Linked DNA regions of Homo sapiens: region 1 is linked to region 2. Evidence: promoter capture Hi-C in 16 types of primary human blood cells and fetal thymus (Javierre and others, 2016). All regions are on one chromosome and are shown on one strand. The core of a region is centred on a gene start or on the middle of the fragment in contact, and the rest is flanking DNA. Distances in the headings are between cores, read along the strand shown.

What was found. Contacts are between HindIII fragments. The CHiCAGO score rates a contact against its expected background, and 5 or more counts as called.
Region 1: a fragment that was not itself captured here is called in contact with the fragment with the promoter of DAGLA in region 2 in 5 of 17 cell types (activated CD4 T cells, non-activated CD4 T cells, naive CD8 T cells and 2 more); the score reaches 6.8 in activated CD4 T cells.

Annotation. Positions count from the first base shown.
Region 1 is chr11:62,104,869-62,108,167 of GRCh38, forward strand. No RefSeq gene overlaps it. Among named protein-coding and RNA genes, the nearest start is that of INCENP, 17 kb to the right of the region's middle. The HindIII fragment of the contact is 3,979 bases long and covers 1-3,299 here.
Region 2 is chr11:61,678,947-61,682,461 of GRCh38, forward strand. DAGLA (diacylglycerol lipase alpha) reads left to right here and starts at 1,445. Exons shown (of 20, transcript NM_006133.3): 1 at 1,445-1,558. The HindIII fragment of the contact is 3,213 bases long and covers 1-2,350 here.

The DNA.
Region 1 (3,299 bases), core at 124-2,623, 430 kb after region 2:
AACAAACAAACAAAAACCACCAGCAACAACAACAACAAAACACCTCTTTCCTTTATATAAGTTACCCAGTCTCAGGTATTTCTTCATAGCAGTGTGGGAATGAACTAATACAGGTGACTACTCACATGTGGCAAATGCAGACAAGGGCACTCTGTGCTATTGGGATGCTGAGGTGGGGGTGTGATAGGAGTTTGGCAGGACTTGTTTCCCAAGACATAGGTCACAAGGACCCCCCTGATAAAACAGGATGTGGTAAAGGAGCCAGCCAAAACCCCCCAAAACCAAGATGGTGATGAAAGCGACCCTTGGTCCTCTCACCGCTCATTATACACTAATCATAATCCATGATTTGTCCATGGTGAAGGAAACTCCCACCAGAAACACGACAGCTTACATACGCCATGGCAACATCCGGAAGTTACCCTATATGGTCTAAAAAGGGGAGGAACTCTCATTTCTGGGAATTCTCTGACCTTTTCCTGGAAAATTCATGAATAAGCCACCCTTGTTTAGCATGTGAGCAAGAAACAAACATAAAAATAGCAACCTGCAACTCTCACGGCTGCTCTTCCGATGGCATAGCCACTCTTACTCCTTTACTTTTAAAATAAACTTGCTTTCACTTTACTCTGTTAACTCTTGAATTCCTTCCTGTGCAAAGCCAAGAACTCACGTCGCCTCCTGGGCTGAACTCCAATGTGGGGGTTCACCCTGTGACAGGTGGATGGGCTGGAGTCCAGGAGTTCGGGTCCAGCCTAAGCAACATAGTGAGACCCCCCATCTCTATTTTTTTCTCAGACAGTATAAGAGACAGATGAAGCAAAGTGCATAAATGGCTGTGAGGAGCATGTGGTTTGTCAAAGCTGGAACTTTATTTACAAACAAGTTCCAGCATTATCTGAGTGGGTGCTGCTAACAATTATAGCGTGTTCTTTCAAACTGCAGACTGGGATTAGACGGTTTGCCAAAAAGCCACTGAGTACATCAAAGCGAGAATTCTGAATTCTCCATTTATCTTCAGATTTATCACTCCCTCCCTCTGTGCCCTTCTCTGCATCTGCTGTATGTGAGTATGGAGAGTCCACACAATTCAGTCTGTACCAGTGGTCTAGGTTTTCAACTACATCTCATTGGTCAAGCATGTTTGCATTCACAGAAGGAACCCTACCCCCATTTTTGTTTTCCTGTTTTATTTTTAGTACATTTTAGGCCTTAAGAATGTAGGGTTTTTTTGTTTGTTTTTTTTTCCTATGAGACGGGAGTCTTGCTCCATAACCCAGGCTGGAATGCAGTGGCATGATCTCGGCTCACTGCAACCTCCCCGTCCCGGGTTCAAGCGATTCTCCTGCCTCAGCCTCCCATGTAGCTAGGAATACAGGCATGCACCACCATGCCTGGCTAATTTTTTTTTTAATTTTTTTTTTAATTTTTAGTAGAGACGGGGTTTCACCATGTTGGCCAGACTTGTTTTGAACTCCTGACCTCAGGTGATCCGCCCACCTTGGCCTCTCAAAATGCTGGGATTACAGGCATGAACAACCATGCCTCACCAATAGTGTTTTATCATACAGAAATAGAAATTACAAATCTCTCAGGAAGTTCTTTGGAAGTGCAGCTTTAAAGACATACTTTTTGACCCCCACTGTTTTCTTTTGCCCAGCTTGGATATGTGTTCTGCCTTCATTGTCTCTTCAAGGAGGCATTCACAGGCAGCAGAGCTCTTTTGTGGAGGAACTTTTATAACATTGTCAGTTGCTTTAAGCAGACGTTCTCAAGGCTGATCTGTAGGCTGGATCCAGTGGCTGACAAGGATTTTACTGATTTGTACAATACGAGAAAAATAAGAACAATGCAATGAGTTTTTCATAAAGGAATTTTTTTTTTTTTGAGATGGAGTTTCACTCTTGTCGCCCAGGCTGGAGTGCAGTGGTGCAATCTTGGCTCACTGCAAACTCTACCTCCTGGGTTCAAGTGATTCTCCTGCCTCAGCCTCCTGAGTAGCTGGGATTATGGGTGCCCACCACCATGCCTAGCTAATTTTTGTATTTTTAGTATTGATAGGGTTTCACCATGTTGGCCAGGCTGGTCTCTAATTCCTGACGTCAGGTGATCCGCCCGCCTCGGCCTCCCAAAGTGCTGGGATTACAGGTGTGAACCACCGTGCCTGGCCTCATAAAGGAATTTATTTGTGTCACTTTGACGTATTCTGAGATTGCATGCCCTCTTCTTTTTGAGTTTAAATGTCTTTTATAATAGTAGGATAATAAGAGATAGGTGTTAAAAAAAAACCCATACATATTTACTTAATAAAATTAACTCAATGCTTAAACGTATTTGCAAATTTTGCTACTCTGTGAAATCCAAAAGTCCAGAGAACTACCATTTTAATGAATGCAACTTGAGATTTAATGTGATACAATGGATTTAATAAGATTTAATTAAATTCCATTCTGATGAGAAAGTTTTAGATAATCCAGCTCTCCATATTCAGAAAAGTCAACCTACCAGCCCAATTTAATGCTTAGATCCACCACAGGGAAGCAGAAATCAGTCTGGATAATGAAGACCAGAGAGCCAGACTCTTAGACCTAAAGGAACTTCAGAGATCACGTCTCATCATACAGCTGAGAAAATAGACTTGATGGTTTGTATTCCTGGTCCTGCCATTTACTTGCCATTGCCTTGAGCTAGCTACTCACCACAACTGCAAAGGGTCCCTTCAGGTCTGAAATTCTGAAACTTAACAAGTAACATATTAAGAAAAAGAGATGAGGCCGGGCACGGTGGCTCACACCTGTAATCCCAGCACTTTGGGAGGCTGAGGCAGGCGGATCGCTTGAGGTCAGGAGTTCCAGAACAGCCTGGCCAACATGGTGAAACCTCGTCTCTACTAAAAATACAAAAAGTAGTCGGGCGTGGTGGCACATGCCAGTAATTCCAGCTACTTGGGAGGCTGAGGCAGGAGAATCGCTTGAACCTGGGAGGCGACAGTTGCAGTGAGGTGAGATTGCACCACTGCACTCCAGCCTGGGTGACAGAGTGAAACTGTCTGAAAGAAAAAAGAAAAAGAAAAAGAGATCCATCCTCATGGGTAAAGGGTAAAATCCAGGGAAATTCAAGCTGATGCAGAAAACAACAAAATACTCATTTTTTTATTGCCCCAAATGGCCACGATTCATAAGGCTTTATTGTAGCTTGGTATGGAGGGGAAAACCAGATTCCTTATCCCACCCACCTGCCTCTTGCTTTCCTAATAAAGGTGTCATGGTAGTTCAAGGCCTGCGGATCAGTGGATCCAA
Region 2 (3,515 bases), core at 195-2,694:
CAGTTGTCCCTTAAAGCCTCCCCTGATCTCTGCCCTTCCTGAGCCTTGAGGAATTCAACTCCTCCTTGAATCCCCTGAGGTGCCCCACTGGGTATATGCGCCCACTCCTCATTTTCCTTGTTACCTACGTGAGTTTGCTTTCTAAATAATCACAGGTAACACAGAACTCCTTCCAGAAGTGGCTCCATCTGCTTCAATAAAAGGCAGTCCTGGCCTCACAGTCTCATTTCCAACCCAAATGTCCACGTAATTTTCAGACCGAGGCTTCTGCTCAAGCCGGGCACCCCACTACCCACACCTCCTTGTTCACCTATGGCTCCCACTTCTACTGAACTGCGCGATCACTGTGATTTTGGGGGTGGCAACAGGGCCTAGGAAACATTTTAGAGGCACTTCTCTTGCCTGAAAGAAAACGTTCTTCCCCTTTTTGTCTCTGATGAATCTTTACTGGATCTTTGGGACCCAGCTGAGTCATCCCGACCTGCAGACTGGACTCCCATCCCCAGGCTTAAATTCCTTTCCAAGGGCTCTGTCTGTCCTCTCGGCTTAGCTTCTGTGTTAAAACCCCCTCCATCTGCGTCTCCTCCCCAGCAGAATGAGCTCCTTGAAGTCAGGGCCCGCCTTCTGCTCCTCTCTGTGCTCCACTCCCCCAGTTCAGCACAGTGCTCCCAGGGAGGTGTAAGCGACTTACGGTGAATGAAAGGGCGTGAAGGGGAACAGGAGGGGCGGTTTTCTTCATTTACCAGAAATTCAAAATTGACCAAGTAAACCCCTTTGGAGACCAGGCACGATGCTGGGCACTGGGAACGGGGGTAGGGGTGGGGGGTGGGGGGGTGGTAGGGAGGAGGGGGTACCCAGGGTACCCACGGGCTCTGTCGCCCGTGGGGAAGGATGGGCATTTACCCTTCCCATTCATCAGGATGGGAGGGCCACGGACTCCCCCCACGGCAGTGCCGGGTAGACCCCTGCACCACACCGTGCCAAGGCCCTTTCTCACAGTCACGCCAGGAACTCTAGCCATGCTCTGACTTCTCAAGCAGAGTTCAGTCACCCCGAGGAGGTGGGACCCGTCTCTCTCCTCCCCACAAATGAACCAGTTCTCCAGTGATCCTACTTCCTTTTTTCCCTCTCCCACGCTAAAACTGGTCACGAGGGACCTAAAGGAGGGGCAGGCACCCAGGCGGCTCCCTTCCCCGCACGCATCGCGGCCAGTCCAGCCCCTCCCGGCCGCCCACGGGACCCCAGCCGAGCCTGAGCCAGGCGCCCACCGCCCCCACGCGCAGGGCCGGCGCCCGCGGAAGACTCGGCTCTCCCTGGCCTCGACGCCGCTCCCCTCCCTGGCGCCAGGGGGCGCTGCCTCCCCACGACCGTCGCCATGGTCACCGCTGGCGGCGGAGAGGGGTTTACGTAAAGGACGCAGCGTCCCCCGGGGGGCGGAGGCGGCCTTCGCGCCGGCGCCGGCGCCCTGCGGAAGCGGCGTTAGTGAATCGGGGCCTTGGGGAGCCCAGGATGGAGGTGGCGGTCGCGGCGGCGGGCCGAGCCCTGCGGCGGGCGGGAGGTAAGGGGGGCCTCCGGCGCGGCGGGCCGGTCCTGGGCGCGGGCGCGGTGCGAGCGGCGCGGCGGGCTGGGCAGTGTCCAGGGCGCGCGGTGGCCGGCCCGACGGGTCGGCGGGCGGAGTTGCAGCTGCCACGCGCGCCCGTGGCAGGTGTGAGGTCTGTGGAGCCCCTGGCACCAGCGTGGGGATGGTGACACGCGTGGCACGGGCGTGGGCAACGTGGGTCCGGCACAGGCGGCGTGGTTTTCCTGGAACGGGTCTCAGAAGACTCGCCTCCACCTTGGTGCGGTGGTGGCCACGCAGGTGTGAGGTGGTGCAGCTGTCTGCACAGGTAGGTGATGGGCACGGCCTTCGGACTGGTTATGGGATAGGTGGCCAGCTCGTGCCGGCATGGTGGTGCCGCTAGCATGGGTGTGAGGAAGTGCTGCCATTGCTTGGGTGTTGGGATGGTTCTGGCCTTGGGCTTGACATGATCTGGGGTGATAGCACTGGGGGCTTGAAGAATTGGTGTTCTCAGCATGGCTAGAGTTCCTGGCATGACTGTGAGAAAGGGCCTTGGCACGGTGTGGTGCGGGGGGCTACCCGGCACTGCCGCGGGGGGAGTCCGTGGCCCTCCCATCCTGATGAATGGGAAGGGTAAATGCCCATCCTTCCTCACGGGCGATGAAGGGGACACTGCCTCTGTCATGGGGGTCCAGTTTTAATGCCTGTTGGGTACACTGGACTGAGGAGGGCAGAAGGCTGGGAGAAGGTTGGTGTCCTTTATAATGGGCATAAACAAGAGATGCCAGGAGAAGCTTCTACCACAAGGGCCCTGATGGTAACCCAGATAGAGACCTTCCAGGCACTACCGTTGTCCTGGGCTAAGGTAGAGAGAACCATTCATCTAGCTTTTCATCTAGCTTTGGGAATGAAGGGAGGGGTGGATGATTTTCAGTGGTGATCGGTGTCCCAGAATATGTCCTGAGAAGCAAGCAGGACCAAGAGGTAACCCGGGTCAGCGAGTGAGGGAGTGGTATGGCGCACCATCTATCTGTAGTCACGGGGTCCTGCCTTCTCCCTGGGTTGATGGGTTCACTCCAGGGTATCTGGGAGTTGCCTCTCTTCTTTGATGCTGGGGAGCCTTTGGGTCCAGAGGATTGGATCGATTGGGGTATGCTTGAAAGATGATTCTGCAGCCACTGGGAATCTGCTGGGGCCACCGGGACTCCCACCCCCAGGCTTAAATTCCTTTCCAAGGGCTCTGTCTGTCCTCTCTGCTTAGCTCCTATGTTAAAACCCCTCCATCTGCGCTGAGATTGTGTTTGCTCTCACCAGTCCTTTGGGAAGCTTTGGGTGAAGGTCTCACTCAGCATCACCTAGTGCCTTACTTTACAGAGAAGCAATTTGCAGCTCCTCCTAGAGAAGTCTTACAGTGTAGGGGAAATCTTCAGTTCTTTGTGGATCTCTTGGGGGAGTGGGATCAGTGGTAGAAGAATCACAGGGTTGAGCTTGTGCTGGGGAAGGCACTTATGAGTCCAAAAAGATGATGTTGAGGGTAGGGTGGCAGGTGGTCGCCAAATTGCCAAGGTGGGTGCTTGGAGATGCTGATGAGTTCCCTATAACCGGAGCACTGTCCGATGCCTTTGGAGCCATATCACTTTAATTCCAGTGTTGGCTGTGTGACCTTCAGCAGGTGACTTCACCAATCAAGGCATGTCACATGGTGGTCTGGTAGTAAAGAATGAAAGGAAATGGTGCACGTGGAAACACTTTGCAAACAGCGAAAGACTGTACAAAGGTCAGAGAGTCTCATCAAGTAAAGAGACCAGGGCTGGAGGCAGGAGCCATAGGAAATGGTGGCACGGGATGTGATTGGGAGGAAGGGAGCCGGAAGGTTGAGGGCCTGTCATAGGGAATTAGAGGCCCTGAGCGCACATGCTCCCGGTGGGGGCAAGTGGGATCTGTTGACACTGTGAGT